Linked DNA regions of Homo sapiens: all the other regions are linked to region 1. Evidence: promoter capture Hi-C in 16 types of primary human blood cells and fetal thymus (Javierre and others, 2016). All regions are on one chromosome and are shown on one strand. The core of a region is centred on a gene start or on the middle of the fragment in contact, and the rest is flanking DNA. Distances in the headings are between cores, read along the strand shown.

Region 1 (3,692 bases), core at 672-3,171:
AGACCAGCCTGGGCAACATAATGAGACCCCATCTCCAAAAAAAAAGAAAGAAAAAACAATTTAGCCAGGCATGGTGGTGGCATGCCTGTAGTCCCAGTTACTTAGAAGGCTGAGACAGGAGGATTGCTTAAGTCTAGGGGGTCGAGGTTACAGTGAGCTATGATTGTACCACTGTACTCCAGCCTGGATGACAGAGTGAAAAGTCTATTTTAAAAACAAACAAAACAAAACAAAACAGAAAAACAGGTGGGGCACGGTGGCTCACATCTGTAATCCCAGCCCTTTGGGAGGCTGAGGTGGGTAGATCACTTGAGGCCAGTAGTTTGAGATCTGCCTGGCCAACATGGTGAAACCCTGTCTCTACTAAAAATGCCAAAATTAGCTGGGCGTGGTGGTCCCAGCTGCTCGGGAGGCTGAGGTGGGAGAATCGCTTGAGGTGGAGGTTGCTGTAAGCAGAGATCTCACCACAGCGCTCCAGCCTGGGTGATGAGCAAGACTCTGTCTCAGAAAACACACACACAAAAAACCCCCAAACAACACACACACGCACACACAAAAATATAGATAAAAAGTAATACAGTAGAACAATTATTTAAAGTATACGAGAAGATGTGTGTAGGTTATATGTAAATACTACACCATTTTATATAAAGGATTTGAGAGCATCTTCAGATTTTGGTATTTGAGGGGGTCCTGAAAACAAGCTCCCTCTCTTGCCCCCATACAGAAGGACAACAGTATTAGAGTCACTGTCCTTCCTATCTTTGAAAAAGTTGAGGGCTGGGCATGGTCAGTCACACCTGTAATCCCAGCAATTTGGGAGGCTGAGGCAGGAGGATCCCCTGAGCCCGGGAGTTCGAGATCAGCCTGGGCAACACAGTGAGGCCCTATCTCTACAAAAATAATGATGATGAAAATAATAAATAACTTTTTTTTAAAAAAAGAAAAAGTAGGAACCTGGGCTCTGCCCACCAATGAACTGTGTGACCTTGGACAAGCTACTTCCAGTCTGCAGCCTTAGTCTCTTCTTCTGTAAAATAGAAATAACAACGATACGTTCTTCAAGCGCCTTGCTCAGTGCCTAGAACATGGCAAGCTCTCGGTATTTGTGGTTGTGGAAGGGTTCAATATCAAAGCGACACTTCTTAGTCAGTGTTTTACTTAGCTTAAAATTAGCCTTCACACTTGAATTGTAAATTGGTCCCTAATTAATGCCCTTCGGGGCAAAATCTGTGTTTAACCTTACTTTATGCGTAGACAGAGCTAGCAAAGCTTTTCAGCTGAGAGGAGAGGAACATGTCAGTCGCCTGGGTCAGGCCGGCGGGGACAACCTGCAGTGGGGCGGCTCCTCACCCTGCCCCGCCCGCCCCTGGCCTCGGAACCGGTTTGTTCCAGGCGCCCAGCGTGAGAACACAGGCACTTACCCACCTCTCGTCGGCCCAATAGTCTGAGTCAAGCCCACCCTGGCCACGCACCGTTCCCGGCACCCGGGTGGCGCAGCCCGTCTCTGTCTTTACCGAGAAGCTCCCCACCCTATGCGTCGAGGACCCCACTTTCTTCAAAGGAGAACCTGAGGCAGCGTCTGGGAAAGCAACTCCATGGCCTCCAGGTCCACCTCGACCCTTTCCTCAGCCCCAAGACCCCGCTGCCTGAACCCCATCGCCCCGCGTGCCGGGATCGCCAGCGCCCACCAGCGGCTCCCGCCCCGGCTCTAGGCGCAGGTGGGGGCGGGGCCAGGGCGGGGCCTGAGGAGCCGGCGCCCCGCCTCGCCCCGCCCCTCCCCGAGGCCCGCGGCGCCGCCGCCTCCACCTCGCTCGAGCCGCGGAGCGCCTCCGAGCGGCCGGCTGCGGCCTGGCTCCGCCTCTCCCGGCCCGGCGCGCCCGCTCCCGCCTCCTTCCCTCTCCTGGCTCCCACCTCCCTCCCTTTCCGCTGCCGAGGCGGCGGGAGCCGAGCCCGAGCGGACCGAGCCGCAGCCGCAGCCGGGCGGCGGGCGAGAGGCGGCGGCGGCGGGCGGGCCGCGGGCAGTCAGTCGGGCGGCGGCGGCGGCGGCGGCGGCGGCGATGCGGCGGCCCCGCTGAGTCCGCCCGCTCCTGGCGCCGGGAGCCAGCCGCGCGAGGCGGCCCGGGCCGGGCGGCAGCATGCGGAGCGGCGAGGAGCTGGACGGCTTCGAGGGCGAGGCCTCGAGCACCTCCATGATCTCGGGCGCCAGCAGCCCGTACCAGCCCACCACCGAGCCGGTGAGCCAGCGCCGCGGGCTGGCCGGCCTGCGCTGCGACCCCGACTACCTGCGCGGCGCGCTCGGCCGCCTCAAGGTCGCCCAAGTGGTAGGTGCCGGGCGGGGCCCCAGGTGCCCGAGGGCGGCCTAGCCGCACGCCTCCCTCCCCGCCCCGCTGCGGGGCCTCCGCCGCGTACCCGCTTGCCCAGGCCGGAGCCCGCTCCTCGCGCCCCCTCTCCCTCGTGGGGTCCCGGGACCACTCTGCAGCCTTCTCTGGGGACCCCGCCTTCGGCCAGAGCCTGCCCTTCCCAGGCCGGCAGCCTCAGGTGTGCGCCTCCTACCTGAGCACCTGCCTTCGGGCCTACCTGTCCGCTCCGCCCTCGCTCCCGGGAGTCTGTGGCGTTACTGGGCTGGGTGCTGCTGGGAATCCTGCTGTCTCCTGGGTACAGCTGGTCTTAGCAACCTGTGGCAGGTTTTCCCGGCCCGCGCAACCTCCGGACGGTGCCTGTTTCTGCCTGCGGAGACGAGGGACTGTGGTTTGGTTCCCACTTGATGTCTAGCTGGGTGCCAGGCGTATATGGTAGGCGCTTAGTAAGTATTTGCTGGATGGAGGCAGGTAGCCCTGATGCAGTGGAGGAGCCCAGATATGCCCACAATTCTCTACACTGCAGAGGTTTGTGTCCTTCTAACCAAGAAGACAGACTTGGCATCCCGGAATCCACCGCCCAGCACGGTGGCTGGCACTGCCCAATTGGTACCCAGAGTTAAATCTGGGAGGGCAGCCAGTTTTGGAGGTAGCAGAAACAGAGAACTTTCTGTTGGACTTGTCTGTAGTAGAGCTCATTTCTCAGGGTCCTGTGTTTTAGCTTCCAGGGTGTTCTGGGCAGGGGCCTCTCAGCTCTGTTCCTGCTTTGTGGTTTTGTAACATGCCTCTGCGGGCAATTGCTTAGCTCTGTTGTGGGCATGCTCTAATTCAGAAAAACCCGTGTGTCCCCCCAACATTCTCTGTCACAGGTAGGCCTTCTGAGGCCACCGGCCTCAAAACTTTATAGACTTCTCATAGCCAGAGAAGCCACTTGTTCTTGTTCTCTCTCTCTCTCTTTTTTGAGACCGGGTCTCTGTCGCCCAGGGTGGAGTGCACTGGTGCGATCGTGGCTCACTGCAGGTTCGACCTCCCAGGCTCAAGCGATCTTCTCACCTCAGCTTCCCGAGTAGCTGGGACTACAAGCACGTTCCACCATGCCGGGTTAATTTTTGTATTTTTAGTAGAGATGGGGTTTCACCATGTTGCCCAGACTGGTCTCCAACTACTGGGCTCAAGCGATCACCCCTCCTTGGTTTCCCAAAGTGCTGGGATTACAGGCATGAGCCACCGTGCCAGGCCTGGTCCTCCTTTTCCTACTTGAGTGCATAAGCATTCCTTGGGAATAATATAATGTGTGGATACCCTTTAAATAAATGTCCTGGCGTTTGTAAA
Region 2 (3,692 bases), core at 413-2,912, 300 kb after region 1:
CTCAGCATGATGGACAAGGCCCTTCTGCATCTGTCCCCTGCATCCCACTCCATGCCCCTCTCTCACTGCTCATTGCACTCTGCCACTCAGACAAGAGTGGACCTACACAGAGGGATTCAGGATAGCAAGATAATGTCTTTGATCTTAGTTACATTGCCATCACTGGACTGGAGGTGGTACCTGAGACCATCAGATGCACTTTCAGAGCTGAACAGGTGACATCACACCATAGCTGGGACTTGTTTTAGTGATTAATGAAAAGATCATTGGGCAAGAGCCAGGAAGGAATACAAAAAGAGCTGGAAGAGATAAGAAGTAATTACAAAGAAATTAACTTTGTGAAATAAAAAACTTAAAAAGTTCTTTCAGAAATCAGGAAAAATCTATGGAAAGATAAATATATATGTTTTGTGTATATAGGAATAATAGTTGCTATTAATGAGGAAAATCCCAGAACAAACAGAACAGAAGAAATAACAAAAAAAAAAAAAAAAAAAAAGAAAAGAAAAGTTTCCTGATCTGAAGAAAGGCTTGAGTCTACACATTATAAGATGTCATTGACATCAGGCATCATTGAAAAAAACCCCAATACTTAGGCAAATCCTGACGACACTTACGAATTTCAAGGCTGTGTGAAGAAACTGAAAAGAGTCCAGACAGAAAGAAATAATTTCCTTATGAGGAAAGAAAAATCAGATTTGCCTCAGATGCCCCCACAAAATTAAATACTAGAATACATTGATAGTATTTTTGAAGGGAAGTGTTTATAATCTGAGGATTATACGAATACATCTAGGTGTTATTAGAAGGCAAGGTTGGGCATGGTGGCTCACATCTGTAATTTGAGTGCTTTGGGAGAGGCTGAAGCTGGAGGTTTGCTTGAGGCCAGGAGTTCAAGACCAGCCCAGCCCAGGTGACAGAGTGAGACCCTGTCTCACCAAAAAAAAAAAAAAAAAAAAAAAAAAAAAAAAAAAAAAAAAAAAAGATTAGCCTGGTGTGGTGGTGTGTGCCTGTAGTCCCAGATACTCAGAGGCTGAGGTGGGAGGGTTGCTTCAGCCTAGATGTTCAAGGCTGTAGTGAGCTATGGTTGTGCCACTGCACTCTAGCCTGGGTGACAGAGGAAGAACCTGTCCCCCCCACCCCCCAAAAAAGGCAAAGAACTAAGATATTTGTGTCCTGAATTTTTTTTTGAAAACTTACTGTATCTAACTAAACATCTCAATATAAAGTAAAAACCTGGCATGGGAAGAATTAAAACAAAACTATTGATTTTTTTTATCATACATAGAAAAGCAATGGGTGTGTGTATGTCTATAATAGTTTTAACTAGAAAATATAGGTCCAAGAAAACATTTTAAATTTTGCAGATAGAAGTAAATCTCACTGGTAGAAATAAAAATGGATGCACCTCATCCAAATATCTAGGAGAAAAAAAAAATAAAGAAACATAGACTGTATAGCAAAGATGAGGAAAAAGAAAAAAGCCATTAAATTTGATAAATGAGAAATGTAAAACAAGATAAAAGAAGGAACATCAAACATATCAATTATGATGAAAAATGTAAATAGGTTAAACACAAAGCATTTCAGTTTAGATTAAAAAGCAAAGCCAAATGCATTCTTGTTTTCAAGAGACAACTTAATGCCAAATGACCTGGAAAAATTAAAAGTAAAGGTTGTAAAATTTGCATTAGGCGTATATGAATAACATGAAAACAGGACTAACAAATGTAACATCAGGAAACAGAATTAAAGGCAAAATATTTAAGCAGAACAAATTGGCTAATTACATTTGGATGAAAGTTACAAACCATAATGAAGGTAAAATAGTTGCAAACCTTTGTTAACTGAATAGAAAAATTTAAATACATAAAGTCAAAACTTAGATATTCTAGGAAGAAGTGGACACAAATACAATTGTATCACATCACAGAACAAGCTAAAGCAAAACAAAAAAAACACCCTATGACTTATAAATGAAAATAAAGAAATCAAGTCAATCTCTTAAATAAACCCTTGGATCAAAGGAGAAACAAAAATTATAATTACAGGCTATTTAGAAAAGAATGGCAATGAAGAGTAGTCCCAAAACTTAGGATATGAGGCCAAAATGGAAGAACATATTTTGTCCTTAATAAGAAGACTTAATACCCTTGAAACATTAGCTATACCAAAATTAATATATAAACACTAGAATTCTAATGTTTAAAAAACCTGGATACAAAATTTTAAATTTCACAAAAGAAAAAATGAGAGTTGACAAAAAATTATATCAAATAAAAAAGCAACATGGGAAGGACTTTTATGTATATCTAAGATCTAGTGTAAAGCTATATGGTTTGGATCTGTGTCCCCACCGAATCTCATGTTGAAATGTAATCCCCAGTGTTGGAGGTGGGCCCTGGTGGGAGGTGGATAGACCATGGGACAGAGTTCTCATGAATGGGTTAGCTCCATCCCCTAGGTTCTGTTCTCAAGCTAGTGAGTTATCATGAGACCAGGTTGTTGAAAAGTGTGTAACAACTCCCTTCCCACTCCTGTTCTGGCCGTGTAAGACGTGCCTGCTTCCCCAGGACTGTAAGTTTTCTGAGGCCTCCCCAGAAGGAGAAGCCACTATACTTCCTGTTAAACCTCTTTTCTTTATAAATTACCCAGTCTTAACTATTTCTTTATAGGAGAATGGACTTATACAAGCTAGTAGAATAAAACAGAATAGCTTTGCTATAGAATGATGGATAGGACAGAGAATTAGAAGTAGATACAGGTATATACAGAAAACTTAGTATATAATGAAGGTGGGAAAACGATGACTTATTATTATAATATTTAGTAAATGGTGCTGGCAAAATCAGCTATGCATCTACAATAAAATAAGATTGAATTGAATTTATACTTACTATTGCATATTATATGGCTCTAAAAAGTATCTGTTGGAACTATATCATTTTTTTCTAAAGATTGTAAAAGAGAAATTTAGTTAAGATAGAAGAGCAAATATCGATGAAACCAGCATGGCATGATCCAAAAAAATTTTAAAACAATCAAACATCAAAAGCAAACAGACAACAACAAACCCACCATAAATGCATCCACATGTTTGTGTGGTCACGAAAAGAAAGGAGCAATAGGACCAGGTTAGGCCACGAACATGAGTTATCTGAGAGTGGGGGTTATCAGTGTTTTCTTGGTAGATCTCTGTGTTGTTTCACTGTATAAAATGAACACTTCTTACTTTTGTGGTTTGGGGAAGATAGATTCAAGAATACAGTTTTAGTGAAGGGGCCTCTGGTGTGTCGTCTGATTGGTTGCTTTCTTGACTGTCAGATCTTACCACATAGGACTGGTGAGAGCTGTGGTGCAGAGAATAAGCCTTCAAGGCCGGACAGAGGACAAGTAGCTCTGGATGCCCAGGACCATGCTAGGTGGGGGAGTCCAGGCAGGTCAAGATGCCAGGCTGCCAAGTGCAAGAGCTTGGGCTTCTGGTCTTGCCTCTGTCACTTTCCCTGTAAGTGCTAGGAGAAGCCAGTTCCCCTCTCTGAGTCCTGGCCTCAGACCAGCAGGCATAGGAACATCCAGGCCGGATTGTCCTTATCATTCTCATCGACACACGCCCCCTTACCCAATGCTATGCCTAGCCGCATCAGGGTCCATGGCCAGCACTGTGCCAATCAGAGGCTTCTTCTGGTTTTCCT
Region 3 (3,692 bases), core at 539-3,038, 280 kb after region 1:
AAGTGATTAACTCAAAAGAGCTCCGCCCTTATGAATGAATTAGTGCTTTATTGAAGGACTGGAAGGAACCAGCTTAGGCCCTTTTTGCATTTTTGCTTTCTGCCATGTGAGGATGCAGCAAGGAGGCCCTCACCAGACACTGAATGCTGTGCCTTGATCTTGTATTTCCCAGCCTCCAGAACTGTGAGGAATACATTTCTGTTGTTTATAAGTTACCCAGTCTATGTTTTGTTATAGCAGCACAAAAGGCCTAAGACAGATGGGCAGGGAAGTCTTCTTAGAGGAGATCTTCGAGGTTTGACTTGAGAAAGAGTTGGGCAAGTGAAGAAGCAGGGATGGCCACTCTTTACAGGGAGAATAGCATGTGTAAAGGCCCAGATCACTTGTTCATTCATTGGTCACTTGTTTATTCACTCACTCATTGTATTCATTTATTCAACAAGTAGGTAGTGAATGCCAGTTATGCAGTTAAGTGTCTATACTATGCACAGAGACTACAAAGTGAATAATTGGGGCGCTCTCAACCTAAGAGTGTTTCAGTCAGCTTAGGCTAAGTTATGTTGTGGTGACAAACAAACCCCAAATATTGGTAGCTTATGACAATGAAGGTTTATTTTTAGCTCATGTTATATGTTCATTGCTGGTGGCAGAGAGAAGAGAGATAGTAGAACCATACATTGGTTCTTAAAGTTTCTGCTCTGGGGTGGCATAAGTCTCTTCCACTTACATTTTATTTGACAGGATGAGTCACATGGCCAAGCTTGACGTCAGTGCATCAGGGATACCAATCCTCCCACAGAGAAGGGCAGTGAATATTTTGACCAATAACACACTCTACCATATGTCTGAGTAAAGGCTAATAACTCAGTCTGACTAGAATGTATGGCATGAGGGTGGCTACAAAAATAAAGAGATTAAGAAGTCAAGGAGAAGCTATATCATGTAGGGCCTTGGGTACCAGGCTAAAGAGTTTGGGTTCCATTGATTGTCAATGGAGAGCCACTGAAGATATGAAAAGTTCTGTTGAGTTTTGAGCAAGGGAGAGTAAGATCTTATTTATGCTTTAGAAAAATCATTTCAGTAGCTTCAGGAAAAGGCCTGGGGGTGGGGGGATTGAGGCTAGAAATAAGAAAACCAACTGAAAAGTTGTGGGAATACCATAGCAGAGTGAATGTTCAAACTAAGGTTGGAACAGTAGAGACGGAGAGGGCTTCTAGAGCTGTTAGGAACAGAATCAAGGGAATTTCATTAGTGCATTGTTCAACAGGTATTTTAGAAACAAAGAATGAATGAGACCAGGTGTGGTGGCTCATGCCTGTAATCCCAGCACTTTGGGAGACCAAGGCAGGTGGATCACTTGAGGCCAGGAGTTCGAGACTAGCCTGGCCAAACATGGTGAAACCCCGTCTCTATTAAAAATATAAAAATTAGCCAGTCATGGTGGTGCATGCCTGTAATTCCAGCTACTCAGGAGGCTGAGGCGCAAGAATCCCTTGAACCTGGGAGGTAGAGGCTGCAATGAGCCAAGATCACGCTACTGCACTCCAGCCTGGGTGATGGAGTGAGACTCTGTCTCAAAAAAAAAAAAAAAAAAAAGAATAAATGAATAAGTAACAGAGTGCCCCTGAACCTTGTACATCAATAAAGTGACCAATAAATTGATCCCTTATAAAATGAGACAGACCCTGATCAAATTTTTTTCATTATTTTCAAATTTTGTTGATGACTTTCAAAAGTTTACTTTTAATTTACATATGGTAATTTTTTTTTTGGAGTACAGTTTTATGATTTTGACAAATGCATGGACTTGTGTAACCACTACCACAATTAAGATATTCAACAGTTCCATCACCCTAAAAGTCTCTCTAATGCAGCTTCTCTTTGTTAGTCCAATCCTCCCTTCTCCCCAACTCTTGGAAACCCTGATATGTTCTCTGTTGCTACAGTTTTGCCTTTGCAGAATATTGTATAAATGGGATCACACAGTATGTAGTCTTTTGAGTCTAACTTCTTTCAAATGGCGTAATGCACTTGAGATTCACCCAAGTTGTTGCACGTATCAATGTTTCTTTCCTTTTTACTGCTCGATAATGTTTCATTTTATGGCCGTGCCAGAGCTGGTTTATTCACTTGTCTTAGTCCATTTGGGCTATATAACAAAATATCATAAACTGTGTGGTTTGTAAACAACAGAAATGTATTTATCTCAGTTCCAGGGGCTGGCAAATCTAAGATAAAGGCATCAGCAGATTTGGTAGATTGAGTGTCTGGTGAGGGTCCACTTATTGGTTCATAGACAGCACCTTCTAGCTATATCTGACATGGTGGATGGGGATCTTCTGGGGCCTCTTTTGTCAGGACACTGTGTTAGTCCATTCTTTTTTTTTTTTCTGAGGCGGAGTCTCACTCTGCCACCCAGGCTAGAGTGCAGTGGTGTGATCTCAGCTCACTGCAACCTCTGCTTCCTGGGTTCAAGCAATTCTCCTACCTCAGCCTACCGAGTAGCTGGGATTACAGGCGTGCACCACCATGCCTGCTAAGTTTTGTATTTTAGTAGAGATAGGGTCTCACCATGTTGGCCAGGCTGGTCTCGAACTCCTGGCCTCAAGTGATCCACCCACCTCCCAAACTGCTGGGATTACAGGCGTGAGCCACGGTGCTCGGCCTTTGTCCATTGTTGCATTGCTATAAAGAAATACTTGAGATTGAGTGATTTATAAAGAAAAGAGGTTTTATTGGCTCATAATTCTGCAGACTGTACAGGAAGCATGGTGCTGGCATCTCCTCGACTTCTGGGGAGACCTCAGGAAGCTTTTACTCATGGTGGAAGATAAAGCAGGAGAAGGCACATCACATGGCAAAATTGTGTGTGGGGGAATGCCACATACTTTTAAACAACCAGATCTCACATGAACTCAGAGTGAGAGCTCACTTATCACCAAGGGGATGTGCCAAGCCATTAATGAGGGATCCACCTCCATGACCAAACACCTCACACCAGGCCCCACTTCCAGCACTGGAGACTATATTTCAACATGAGATTTGGAAGAGTTACATATTCTAACCATATCAGGCACTGACCCCGTTCATGAGCGGTCTGACTTCATAATTTAATCCCACCCTAAAGTCCCCACTTCCAAATACCCATGCATTGGGGATTAGGTTTCAACTTACAAATTTTGGAAGGACAGAAACATTCAGACCATAGCACCCCTCACCAGTTGAGGGACATTTTGTTGTTTCTGGTTTTGGTGTTATAACTTTATAAGAAACTCCCAAACTGTTTTGTAAAGTGGTTTTACCATTTTGCATTCCCATTAGCAATGTATGAGTGCTCCAGTGGCTCTGCAGTTGGTATTGTCAGTTTTTTCCCCATTATAGTAGGTATGTAGTGGCATGTCATTGTGGTTTCAATGTGCATTTCCCTAATGAGTAATGATGCTGAGAATCTTATGCTTATTTGCCATCCATATATCTTCTTTATTTATGCTTATTTAACATCCATATAATCTTCTTTAGTGAAGTGTCTGTTCAAATATTTTGCCCATTTTTAACTTGGGTTGCTTATTTTCTTACTGTTGAGTTTGAGAGTACTTCCTATAGTCTGTATATCCTTTGTCAGGCATATGACAGTCCATGGCTTTTCTTTTTATTCTTATAATTTTAATTTTGCTCTTTTTAGAGCAAAAGTT

Evidence for each region. Contacts are between HindIII fragments. The CHiCAGO score rates a contact against its expected background, and 5 or more counts as called.
Region 2: a contact is called between a fragment that was not itself captured here and the fragment with the promoter of CMTM4 in region 1, in 5 of 17 cell types (total B cells, naive B cells, activated CD4 T cells and 2 more). The highest score is 9.1, in total B cells.
Region 3: a fragment that was not itself captured here is called in contact with the fragment with the promoter of CMTM4 in region 1 in 9 of 17 cell types (naive B cells, total B cells, activated CD4 T cells and 6 more); the score reaches 14.2 in naive B cells.

What each region holds. Positions count from the first base shown.
Region 1 is chr16:66,694,972-66,698,663 of GRCh38, reverse strand. CMTM4 (CKLF like MARVEL transmembrane domain containing 4) reads left to right here and starts at 1,921. Exons shown (of 4, transcript NM_181521.3): 1 at 1,921-2,324. The coding sequence starts at 2,139. RefSeq lists silencers at 1,279-1,358, 1,389-1,448, 1,689-2,028, 2,119-2,408 and an enhancer at 1,879-2,718. The HindIII fragment of the contact is 10,204 bases long and covers 1,275-3,692 here.
Region 2 is chr16:66,392,311-66,396,002 of GRCh38, reverse strand. It overlaps CDH5 (cadherin 5), which reads right to left. Exons shown (of 12, transcript NM_001795.5): 7 at 3,620-3,692. Among named protein-coding and RNA genes, the nearest start is that of LINC00920, 14 kb to the left of the region's middle. The HindIII fragment of the contact is 9,921 bases long and covers 1-3,692 here.
Region 3 is chr16:66,412,177-66,415,868 of GRCh38, reverse strand. No RefSeq gene overlaps it. Among named protein-coding and RNA genes, the nearest start is that of LINC00920, 5.5 kb to the right of the region's middle. The HindIII fragment of the contact is 2,051 bases long and covers 763-2,813 here.